2 separate regions of the Homo sapiens genome follow, and region 1 is linked to region 2. Evidence: promoter capture Hi-C in 16 types of primary human blood cells and fetal thymus (Javierre and others, 2016). All regions are on one chromosome and are shown on one strand. The core of a region is centred on a gene start or on the middle of the fragment in contact, and the rest is flanking DNA. Distances in the headings are between cores, read along the strand shown. Region 1 overlaps HS2ST1 (heparan sulfate 2-O-sulfotransferase 1). Region 2 holds the start of CLCA4 (chloride channel accessory 4).

What was found. The method cuts DNA at HindIII sites, captures the fragments that hold promoters and counts their contacts. A CHiCAGO score of 5 or more calls a contact.
Region 1: a contact is called between a fragment that was not itself captured here and the fragment with the promoter of CLCA4 in region 2, in 1 of 17 cell types (naive CD8 T cells). The highest score is 5.2, in naive CD8 T cells.

The regions. Positions count from the first base shown.
Region 1 is chr1:87,103,465-87,109,351 of GRCh38, forward strand. HS2ST1 (heparan sulfate 2-O-sulfotransferase 1) reads left to right here. Exons shown (of 7, transcript NM_012262.4): 6 at 1-125; 7 at 1,006-5,887. The coding sequence ends at 1,232. Among named protein-coding and RNA genes, the nearest start is that of LINC01140, 23 kb to the right of the region's middle. The HindIII fragment of the contact is 2,197 bases long and covers 153-2,349 here.
Region 2 is chr1:86,544,488-86,551,136 of GRCh38, forward strand. CLCA4 (chloride channel accessory 4) reads left to right here and starts at 2,591. Exons shown (of 14, transcript NM_012128.4): 1 at 2,591-2,791. The coding sequence starts at 2,633. The HindIII fragment of the contact is 9,510 bases long and covers 1-6,649 here.

The DNA of each region.
Region 1 (5,887 bases), core at 1-2,500, 560 kb after region 2:
CAAGTATAACCTAATTAATGAATATTTTCTGGTGGGAGTTACTGAAGAACTTGAAGATTTTATCATGTTATTGGAGGCAGCATTGCCCCGGTTTTTCAGGGGTGCTACTGAACTCTATCGCACAGGTATATAAAGGAAGGGTTTCTTTTTAAAGCTTTCTTTGGTTTGGTTTTTTGGTTTGCAACTTGTAAATATGTGATTTGAAGTTTCTTCAGTGAAACACAACAGATAGCTCCAGAAAGGCAGGTATCTTGTCGGTTTCTGCTCACTATTTTCAATTGAGTAACTGTGAATTAGGTGAAAATTAGAAGGCACTGTAGAAATAGTGGAATGATACAAAGTACAGAACCAGCCATAGAAATGTATGGTATTCAATAATGCCAGATATCAAACATTAGGCCTGTGTATAAGTCCTGCCTACTACCATTTTGAAGTAGAGGTGTGATAGGGGAACTGAAGTATGCCTAAGCCATGTTTTAGCAGCCTCAGCCGTATTATCATGTGTCTGAAAGTGATAAGCTAATTGTGTTTTTGTTTTGTTTCGTTTTTTGCTATTGCTTGATAAGATGCAGTCATAGGAACTCTTCTCCTTGAGGATGCATATGCCCTAGCTTCTAACACATAATTTTAGAGAATACAGATTATGAGAAAATAGAATACAGTTTGACAATAGGTATTTTATCAAAAATAAACTAGTCTCAGAGCACCAAGCACTTGAGAATATAGTGTGTGAGGTGACAGCCTACACTTTACTGTGTGCCAATCCTTACATTGACTATTTGACATTTCATTAAGTCTTTACTAGGTTAAGGATTAACATTCTAAAGGACTGAATCATGGCTCTAGTTTGATCAAGGCTCCGTTTTTACCTGAATTATATAAGACAATTATGTTACCTGTTCTTAATGTGTCATATTAACCACCTCTTCAAATAAAGAGGCATTGATCTTTTGTGTGTTCTCCAAGAATTATTTACCTTTCCTTTTTTTCCCCCTTTGTAAGTAGGAAAGAAATCTCATCTTAGGAAAACCACAGAGAAGAAACTCCCCACTAAACAAACCATTGCAAAACTACAGCAATCTGATATTTGGAAAATGGAGAATGAGTTCTATGAATTTGCACTAGAGCAGTTCCAATTCATCAGAGCCCATGCCGTTCGAGAAAAAGATGGAGACCTCTACATCCTCGCACAAAACTTTTTCTATGAAAAGATTTACCCTAAGTCGAACTGAGTATAAGGTGTGACTATTGGATTCTTGAACTAAAATTTGACCCTGTCTTCACCTTTGTTCTCAGCTCCACAGTCTGGATTGCTGACAGTAGGTGTATATGACAATTTGTATTGAGCCAAATTAGGAAACAGACAGTAACGTCAAGGAAGTAGATACTGGCTGGCATTGTCAGTGTTCTAAGTTTCAGGCATTTTTATTTTTCCTGGCTAAACGTTGGTGAAAGTTATAACCTCCTGCCTGGGAGAAAATATACATCACCTAAAATGAACTTATGGCAGGTCTAATCAAAAGGCTAAATACAATTTCAGAAAAGGTTCTGATACTCTTGTTTTTGATAAAGCATTTTTTCAACTAACCATGAATTAAGATGAGTCCATTTGCCTCTTCTGCCTTCACTGAGGGTTTGGGTTATACACCTCTACTGAATTGTGTTAATAACTGTTTGGCAGTGTGTACTTTGTTTTTGTGAGTCATGTCTCATGAAATTTATTGGAATGTTTAATCATATTTGCTAAGAAATGTTTCTGCTGTAGTTGGATTTGCCCATATTTATGTAGGTGGTTTTAATTTTTTAAATGGTGATTAGTGTTAAAAATCAATTTAAATCATGACTAATATGGTAAAAAGATAAAGCATCAAAGCAGTATTTCTCATTCCTGCCTCCTCAATATCTAATACTGGGAAGATACTTCAAAGAATATTGAGATTGTCTGAAGTTTTAGTTAAGATTTTCACACATTAATATCAAAAAAGTAAGTTTAGTATTTGTTTCTCCATGGGTTATTTGTAAAGCTGTAAACTGAGATATCGGTGACTCCGTATTATGACTCCATTAGTGAGCTGTGGTATGGGTAGGATTTTCCTACTTCTTCTGTACTTTTACCTGTAGACTATTTTTACTAAGGTGCTTTATAATGTGTTTTAAAGCATTGCATTTACAAAACAAGGAAAATGCTGTAAATATTGCATATTTTATGTATTTGGACCAAAAGGTTACAAGTAATTAGACAAAAGTGGTTTTGCACCAATTTTATGTCAAGTAAAACCATCAGACCTACTGTTCTTGTATTTCTCATTTAACTTTACTGTTAAGACATCACTGAAATGAACTTCAGTAAGCTTTCAATTTTGATACACAGTTCATTATTCATAACTTGAGGCAGTAATTACAGTGGAATGAGTACTGGACAAGGAGTCAAAAAACTTGATTTCAGGTCCTAGCTCTAGCACTTACAGCTGTGTGATCTTGGGCAAGTCACTTAACCTCTCTTTGCCTCAATTTCCTCATCTTGAAATGAGGATAATAATACCTGCTGTACCTACCTCACAGGGCTGTTGTGAGGATTAAATGAGATGGCATGTGAAAGCACTTTGAAAATTGTAAAGCGCTATGTAAATGTAAGGTATTATAGAAACATCTTTAACATATAGTTTCATACCATTCATTTTTTAACAAAGAAAGGGAAAAGTCTGCTTGTAAGCTGGTTGAAAAAGTTAATCTTGATATAAATTTGTGTTTGATAAATATCCTCTCAGTGTTTTATCTTCCATGTTTCAACAACTATTGAAATATGAAATGCCTGTGAACTCTTAAAGCTTCATGAGCAGCTGCTTGAGTTCAGGAAGTTCACTGTTAGAAATAGGCTTTGTTAGCTGACTAGGGTCAGGGAAACTTTTCTCTTCAAATTTGAAAGCTGTTTCTGTTTTCATTTTACATTATTATTCAGAAATGGTAGCTATTCTATACCTATGGTTTAAGTAAATATTTCTGAATAAGGCTTCACCATACTGTAAGCATTTTAGGTAGATTGCCTTAAAGGTTATGGGAGGGCATGAGGGAACACTTCTTATGAGAAAACATTTATAAACAAAAGAAACATTTATAAACTAAAGAAAAACTAAAAGAATGACAGAACAATCATCTTAGCACCCTTTCCTCACAATAATATAAAAATATTAAAAGAACATAGGCAGGCTTTTTTTAAATTTGGCTTTTTTCTTTCCTTTTTTCAAATTGACTTTTATAGGTATTTCCTGAAAGTGTATACAAATTATTTCCTCGCCCAAAATAAAGCACCACTTCAAGGTGTGGTTTGACATTACATGCTAATGAACAAACCCAGTATGCAAGTTATTCTTGCACCACATGCTCAAATCTTCTTGAGGTGCATTAACTCTTTTAGGTAACTAGAGCAGTACTTGGTGAACTAGATCAGGAGGTCAGTAAACTTTCTGTGGAAGGGCCAGAGAGTAAATATTTTAGGCTTTGCAGCCCATACGGTCTCTGTCACAGCTAGTCAACCCTGCCATTTTACCACAAAAGCAGCAATAGACATTATGTAAACAAATGAGCACAGTTATGTTCCAATAAAACTTTATTTACAAAAACAGATGACATCCCAGATGCAGACCATGGGCAACCAACCATTGCACTGGCCAAATCATTATTTATGGAGAAATCCTCTTTGTGTCTCTACTCTAGATGCCTAAAAGAGTTTATATACTTCTAAAAGCTCCTAACTTATATCCAAAGAATTGCTTTCTGATTCGTGTAGTCTCTCCCACAGATTCATAAACTTTTATGACTTATATTGTTTCCAGGTGGGCATGGTTTATTTCCCAGTTTAACAGTTCAGAATAGGGGCATTTATTTTATCATATTTTAGGGTGGGTTAGGAGTATCCTTTCTGGAGACTGAGAAAGGGGTGTATTTAATTCCATCAGGTCCAGTACAGTACTAGGAGTCATAATACTTTATAATCAATTAAATAAATAGAACCACTGAGACAATAATGTATTTTTTTAAAGTGGCAAATGTGGTTTTCTTTTTTCAGCCTTTGCGCTTTTTCAGTATTTTGACCATAGGGAGATAATTTTTTTATAATACAAAAGTAACCACTTGGAATTTTAAAGATAATGTTATGTGTGTATGTGAAATATATATACATATATATATATATGTTTATTTCCTAAAAGAAGAAAAGATACCTTTCTGTTCAACTTGTATCAACTCCTCTTTTCTAATTGCTGTGAAATGGCAACTGTTGATAAATTATTGTGATTGTTTTAAAATCTAATGGGAAGTAAAATATATTTTGATTTTACCCAGCTTAATCTGTAAAGTAGCACTTAAATATATCTGATAGCAACACTTAAGATATTGCATGGGGATTACTTTCCTATCATCCATATGCATTTGTGCAACTTCAAACATATTGGGTGCTTCTGAATTCCTGATGATTGGATTTAAGCTATTGAAAATTGGATAATTTAAACTTAATGATTTTTATAATTTTCTGATCTTAAAATTTGGTTAATGCCTATAATCTGTTGCTTTTTCTCAATATGTGTCCTATTGGAAATTCCTCAAATCGTTGGTGCCATCAGTGATTTACAAACAATATTTTGATATTGCAGATGACTTGCTTACTGTATTTGCATTGTTAGAAAACAGTTTGTAGACAATGATTCTTTTTTAATAAAATCAAATAATTCTAAAAGTGCTAGAGAATTTAACTAAAAGCTGGTTCCCAAATGCATAGCTGGCATTTTAATTTAAATTCAAATCTACATAGAGAACATCTGTGTAAATCATCTAACTGGATTTTTCCATTGGTCATTCCCAAACACACCTATGGTCCTAGAATCCTTAAGAGAAGCACCCTGTAACCTTTTATGTGGTTTGCCTTTAAGAGGCCCAGGTGCTTCTCCTTTATGATTTGAGTTGGCCTCTTCATAAATTAGTGCTGTTTACTTTCAGAGGAAGCAGAGAAGTTGCTGTTATGTTTTTGCATCCGTTTACCCTATGCAAAGTTGCTGTATGATGCCAACTAAACTACTCTTTAGGCAGCCTTCTGAGGAGAAAAGCAACCCTGTTTCAAATCCACTGCCAATTCAGCTCCTCTGGAGTGGAGCTTTCTGATTTCTTGGAGCAGGAATTTTAGAGATTGAAATGAATGATCATTTAGTCAGATTTATCCTGTAATTTCATGCAGCTTTGTGGCCTTTGCAGTACTATTTATAAAATGGACCCTGATGGTGATGAACTCTTTAGAACGCATTACTGTTAAGCCTGTGTTGAGACATTGATGCTGTCTATCTCATTTTTTAGACAGTTTTTGTAGCTTTCTATTGAGAGTCAGGTATGTGAGCATCTCTGAAGCAGTGTTGAATGTAATTTTCGGAAACATGGATTGTGTATTTTGACTTTTATTTTATAAATACACAGCTCAACAGTGCCTTTTTTTTCCCTCATAGTCCTGTTGGAAGATGCTCACTACTTTCTCTCTTCTCTCTCCCTGCCCTCCCCCACTCCATTCAGTTGATTCATTTATGCAAATTCTGTTTCCAACTTGAAACCATTTTGTCACATCTGTTGGAGAGATAATCACTCCTTTTCCTTAACATTCTGCCAGCTTTCTGATGTTGAAGTGTTTCAGTTGACTACCTGATGCAAAAGCTATAAAATAAACAGTGGGAAGGGGAAAAATTGGTGTCCTGTTTTAATATTTTCTTTTGTAGCCTTGACACTGATGGACATTTTCCAAGCTGACTCAGTGTTCAGTGTCAACTTAACTCTCAGATAGTGTTGCCATCAAGAAAGCATGCAACATCATTGGTTTCTAATGATTTTATGGCTTGTGACAATATTTTAT
Region 2 (6,649 bases), core at 1,341-3,840:
CAAGAAAAATAAAGGGCATCCAGATTGGTAAAGAGGAAGTCAAACTGTCACTGTTTGCTGATGACATGATCATATATCTAGAAAACCCTAAAGACTCATCTAAAAAGCTCCTAGAACTGGTCAATGAATTCATCAGAGTTTTGGGATACGAAATTAACGTACACAAATCAGTAGCTCTCCTATATACCAACAGTGACCAAGCTGAGAATCAAATCAAGAAGTCAACCCATTTTACAATAGTGCAAAAAAATTAAAATACTTAGGAATATACTTAACCCAGGAGGTGACAGACTTCTGCAAGGAAAACTACAAAACACTGCTGAATAAATCATACATGACACAAACAAATGAAAACACATCCCATGCTCATGGATGGATAGAATCAATATTATGAAAATGATCATACTGCCAAACACAATCTACAAATCCAATGCAATTCCTATCAAAAACCACCATCATTCTTCACAGAACTAGGAAAACAATCCTAAAATTCATATGGAACCCAAAAGAAGCCTGCATAGCCAAAGCAAGACTAGGCAAAAAGAAAAAACCTGGAGGCATTACATTACCTGACTTCAGACTCTACTATAAGGCCATAGTTACCACCACAGCATGGTACTAGTGTAAAAGCAGGCATATAGACGAATGGAACAGAATATAGAACTTAGAAATAAACCAAAATACTTAAAGTCAACTGATCATCAACAAAGCAAACAAAAACAAAGTGGGGAAAGGACACCCTATTCAACAAATGGTGCTGGCATAATTGGCAAGCCACATGGTGAAGAATGAAACTGGGTTCTCATCTTTTACCTTATACAAAAATCAATTCAAGATAGATCAAAGACTTAAATCTAAAACCTGAAACCATAAAAATTCTAGAAGACAACTTCAGAAGAACCCTCCTAGACATTGGCTTAGGCAAAGACTTCATGACCAAAAACCCAAAAGCAAATGCAACAAATACAAAGATAAATTGTTGGGACTTAGTTAAACTAAAAACCTTCTGTGCAGCTAAAGAAATAATCAGCAGAGTAAACAGACAACCCACAGAATGGGAGAAAATCTCTGCAATCTATACAGCTGACAAAGGACTAATATCCAGAATCTACAACAAACTCAAACAAATCAGCAAGAAAAAAACAAACAGTCCCATCAAAAAGTGGGCTAAGGAAATGAATAGACAATTCTCAAAAGAAGGTATACAAACAGCCAACAAACATATGAAAAAATGCTCAACATCACTAATGATCAGAAAAATGCAAATCAAAACTACAATGCGATACCTCCCTACTCTTGCAAGAATGGCCATAATCAAAAAATCAAAAAATAATAGATGTTGGCATGGATGTGGTGAAAAGGGAACACTTTTACACTGCTGCTGGGAATGTAAACTAGTACAACCACTATGGAAAACAGTATGGAGATTCCTTAAAGAACTAAAAGTGGGCTGGGTGTGGTGGCTTACACCTGTAATCCCAGCACTTTGGGAGGCCAAGGTTGGTGGATCACGAGTTCAGGAGTTCAAGACCAGCCTGACCAACATGGTGAAAACCTATCTCTACTAAAAAACAAACAAACAAACAAACAAATATACAAAAATTAGCCGGGCATGGTGGCACACGCCTGTAATCCCAGCTACTGAGGAGGCTGAGGCAGAAGAATTCCTTGAACCCTGGAGGCGGAGGTTGCAGTGAGCCGATATCGCGCCACTGCACTCCAGCCTGGACAACAGAGTGAGAGTCCATCTCAAAAAAAAAAAGAACTAAAAGTGGAGCTACCATTTGATCCAGCAATCCTAGCAATACCACTCCTGGGTATCTATCCAGAGGAAAAGAAGTCATATATGAAGAAGATACTTGCACACACGTTTATAGCAGCACAATTTGCAATTGCAAAATATGAAACTAGCCCAAATGCTCATCAATCAACCAGTGGATAAAGAAAATGTGATATATATATATACACATATACCTACATACATACACACACACCATGGAATATTACTTAGCCATAAAAAGAAATGAAATAATGGCATTTGCAGCAGCCAATTTCAGAAATGGAAAACCAAACATCATATGTTCTCACTCATGAGTGGGAGCTAAGCCATGAGGATGCAAAGGCATAAGAACGACACAATGGACTTTGGGGACTCGGGGAAAAGGATAGGAGGGGGAGGTGAGGGATAAAAGACTACACATTGGGTACAGTGTACACTGCTCGGGTGGTTAGGTGCACCAAAATCTCAGAAATTATAATTAAAGAACTTATTCATGTAACCAAACCCCACCTGTTACCCAAAAACCTATTGAAAAAAAAAAATCCCTGTTGTCAAGGAGCCCTTAGAATATCAACAATGACAACAATAAAGAAAACGTGTTCCAACAGGAAAATGTGCAATGCATTTTATAAAATGATCTGATTTATTCTGACTCTTAGTCACTTTTATGTAACATATAATTAAGCAATCAGGTGAATTAGTCATGTATTTTCTCATGTAATGTACCTTTATACAGTCAACATCCCATAATCAGCCAATACTGGTAAGTTTTAGGAACGTATATAAAGAGAAAGAAAAGAAAAGCCTCTTGAACAAACCAACATTTGAGCCAGGAATAACTAGAGAGGAACAATGGGGTTATTCAGAGGTTTTGTTTTCCTCTTAGTTCTGTGCCTGCTGCACCAGTCAAATACTTCCTTCATTAAGCTGAATAATAATGGCTTTGAAGATATTGTCATTGTTATAGATCCTAGTGTGCCAGAAGATGAAAAAATAATTGAACAAATAGAGGTAAGAACAAAATGGAATATCTTTCATTAATTTTTAGTTTTTTACTATTATTTTTAATTGACATATAATTGTACATATTTATGGCATACAAAGTAGTATTTCTATACATGTATACAATTTGTAAAGATCAAATCAGGGTAATTAGCATATTCAGCAACTCAAACATTTATCTTTGCATTGTGTCGGGAACATTATAATTATTCTCTTCTAGCTACTTTGAAATACACAACAGATTATCAGTAACTTTAATTTTCCTATTGTACTATCAAATACTAGAACTTATTCTGTCTACATAACTGTGCTTTTGTACACATTGACAAACTTCTCTTCATTTCCTTTCTCTCCCCTATCCTTTGCAGCCTCTAATAAGTATCATTCTACTCTCTATCTCCATAAGATACCCTGGTTTAGTTCCTGCATATGCATAAGAATATGTGGTATTTATCTCTCTGTGCCTGGCTTATTTCATTTAACATAATGTCCTCCATGCTCATCCATGCTGCCACAAATGAAGCAATTTCATTTTTTTCAGTGACTAAGTAGTATTCATTTGTGTTTATATACCACACTTTATCCATTCATCTCTTGATGGACACTTAGGTTGACTTCACATCTTGGCCATCATGAATAGTGCTACAATAAACATGGAAGTGCAGACTGATGTCTTTTCCCTTGGATATATACCCACTAGTGGAATTGCTGAATCATGTGGTCATTCTATTTTTAGATTTTTGAAGAACCTCCATACTGTTTTCCATAATGGCTGTATCAACTTACATTTTCACCAATGGTATATAATAGGTCTCTTTCTCCACATCCTTGTCAGCACTTTTTTTGTCTTTTTGGTAATAACCATTCCAACTGGGCTGAGATGGTGTCTCATTCTGGTTTTGATTTGCATTTCCCTGATGATTAATGATGTTGACCACTTTTTCATATACTTGTTGGACATTTGTTTGTCTTCTTTTGAGAAATGTCTATTCAGATCATTTGCCCATTTTAAAATATTATTATTATTATTACTTTGTCTTTGAGGTTTTTGAGTTTCTTGTATATTCTGGATAATAATCCATTGTTGGATGAATAGTTTGCAAATATTTTTCCCAAGAATTGGGATGTCAGCCAGGCACGGTGGCTCTCATGCCTGTAATCTGAACACTTTGGGAGGCCGAGGAGGGCAGATCATGAGGTCAGGATTTCGAGACCAGGCTGGCCAACATGTTGAAACTCCGCCTTCACTAAAAATACAAAAAATTAGCTGGGCATGGTGGCACATGCCTGTAATCCCAGCTACTCAGGAGGCTGAGGCAGGAGAATTGCTTGAACCCGGGAGGCAGAGGTTGCAGTGAGCTGAGATCACGCCATTGCACTCCAGCCTGGGCAACAGAGCAAGACTCCCTCTCTGGAAAAAAAAAAAAAAAAAAAAAAGAATTGGGATGTCTTCTGTTTGAATTATGGAGAAGAAAACAAAGTTAATAGTTAATAATTATTATGGAAACTTCTGAGTCCTTCAGGAAGTTAAAAGCAGTGTGGTGCAGTGAGGACAATATGGTAATGGGCAGAGGGAGATGAAGGTTTTAGACAGGGTTCTACACTGTGTCACCACAAGACAGAAGACAAGGCACAGGGCTCCCTGACACTGAGTTTCTTGATCTGTAAGTTAGCAGTTGGACTCATTTGTTCTTTAAAGAATTCTTTGTTGAATGTTTATGACATGCTAAAGAGCAGTAAAATTTTTTTAAAGCCTCTGGCACCATGCAGTGTATCTTCTTTTCAGAGATATAGTTAATAAGTAAATGGATCACAGGTCAGATGGTGGTAGTAGGTTGCTGTGGAGTAAAACAAATCAGGAAGGGGGATATGGAGTGTTAGGTGGGGCTGGATTGGGGGAGAATGTGGGTTGCTATTTCATGAGGGAAGTCAGGGAAGGCCTCACTGATGATGTGTCAGCACAGACCTGAGATGAGCGAGAGAAGAGCCCATTGAAAACTAGGGGAGAAAAACAGCATGGAGGTGAGAATTCGTTTGATGTAACCAAGGAAACAGCTATGAATGAGCAGGAGGAAGCATAGGGTGAGCTGAAGTTAGAGAGGTGGCAGGGCCTAGACCACCAGAAAGACTTTGACTTTGACTCTGTGATGAAAATCCATAGGAGGATTCTGAGCAGAGAAGGGTGTGTTCTCATGCATGTTCAGGAATCACTCTGACTGCAATATTAAGGACTGTAAAGAATTTCCACTTGTCACCCATCCTCTATAAACTCTGTGGCAGCTTACTGGTGTAGAAGGACCCCAGGTAGGAAACTCTTGCAGGTGGGCAGTGATGGTGACTAGGAACAGGGAGGTTGTGGTAAAGATTGTTAAAGTGATATGGTGGTTAAGATGTATAGGGGATAGGTGAGGGTAGGAAGGAAATATAATAAGAGTCAAGGAAGAATTCAAGAGTTTTGCTTGAACACTTGGATTGAGAAGGGGAAGACTGTAAGTGGAGAAAATTTGGCATTTGGAAAATCAAGAGTTAGTTGGTTGGGGCTTTTGGAATTTATGTTACTTCTGAAAACATCCATGTAGATGGAGGCAGGAATCTGAATTCATGATGAAGAATGAAAATTTGGGTGTAGATAACTAGGCAAGTACAGATGGAGAAGAGAAAGGCTCCAGGACTAAACCAAGGACACTGATTTCTGTTTCTTTCAAATATAACATTCTATGTAATATAGAGTTTGGTGGTGTAGCCACGTAAATTATTTTTCCCTCTCCCTGATATCAACATATACTAATTCTTTATATTTAATTTCTCCACTACTGTGTTCTGCTGCTTATGGTTGGACCCTTCTGCATGTTTTAATTACCCAGCAGAAGGTGATAGGCATGAACTAAGTTGTAATCAAGTGATTTTGTGGCTGCCATTTGTCATTCACTCTCTATAAACTCTGTTACATCACAAAGATATTTGCTTATAGGTACCTTTTAAATTTCATGAGAAGATAATAATTCATTTTACTAAAGATGTTTAAAGAACAGTTAATGCAGCTAATTCTGAATGATAGGTTTTTAGTGTCCAGAGGACAGTAAATCAGTATCAAACTTTTCTTACTCAGACATCACTATTTGAAAGAATTACTTGGATGGGCAAAAATTTTGTAAACATGGTCCTCTATAAGTACAAGCAGAAATTCAATTGTTTACAGGCATGCCCAGATTTTACAATGTTTCCTGACATTTCTCCCAGCCCTTCACAAAATCTTCGCGTTTAATATCTTCAAGAAACCCTATGAAATACTATAATCCACATTTTACAGAAGAAAAAACTAGGGGTCCGAAAAAAAAAATGATTTTTCTAAGATCATAGTAAGTATCACAGTCAGAGGTAAGAATCGCTTCAACCAAGGAGGCAGAGGTTGCAGTGAGCTGAGATCATGCCACTGCATTCCAGCCTGGGTGACAGAGCAAGACTCTGTCTCAAAAAAATAAAAATAAAAATAAAATTAAAAAAAAGTGCCTTTCATCCTTATATTTCCTCATGAGATAATAAGGTCTAGGGAGGGATCATTTCTTTTTTTTTTTTTTTTGAGACAGAATCTCGATCTGTCCCCCAGGCTGGAGTGCAGTGGTGCGATCTTGGCTCACTGCAAGCTCCGCCTCCCACGTTCACGCCATTCTCCTGTCTCAGCCTCCCGAGTGGCTGGGATTACAGGCGCCTGCCACCACGCCCCGCTAATTTTTTGTATTTTTAGTAGAGACGGGGTTTCACCGTGTTAGCCAGGATGGTCTCAATCTCCTGACCTCGTGATCCGCCCGCCTCGGCCTCCCAAAGTGCTGGGATTACCGTCGTGAGCCACCGCACCCAGCCTCTTTT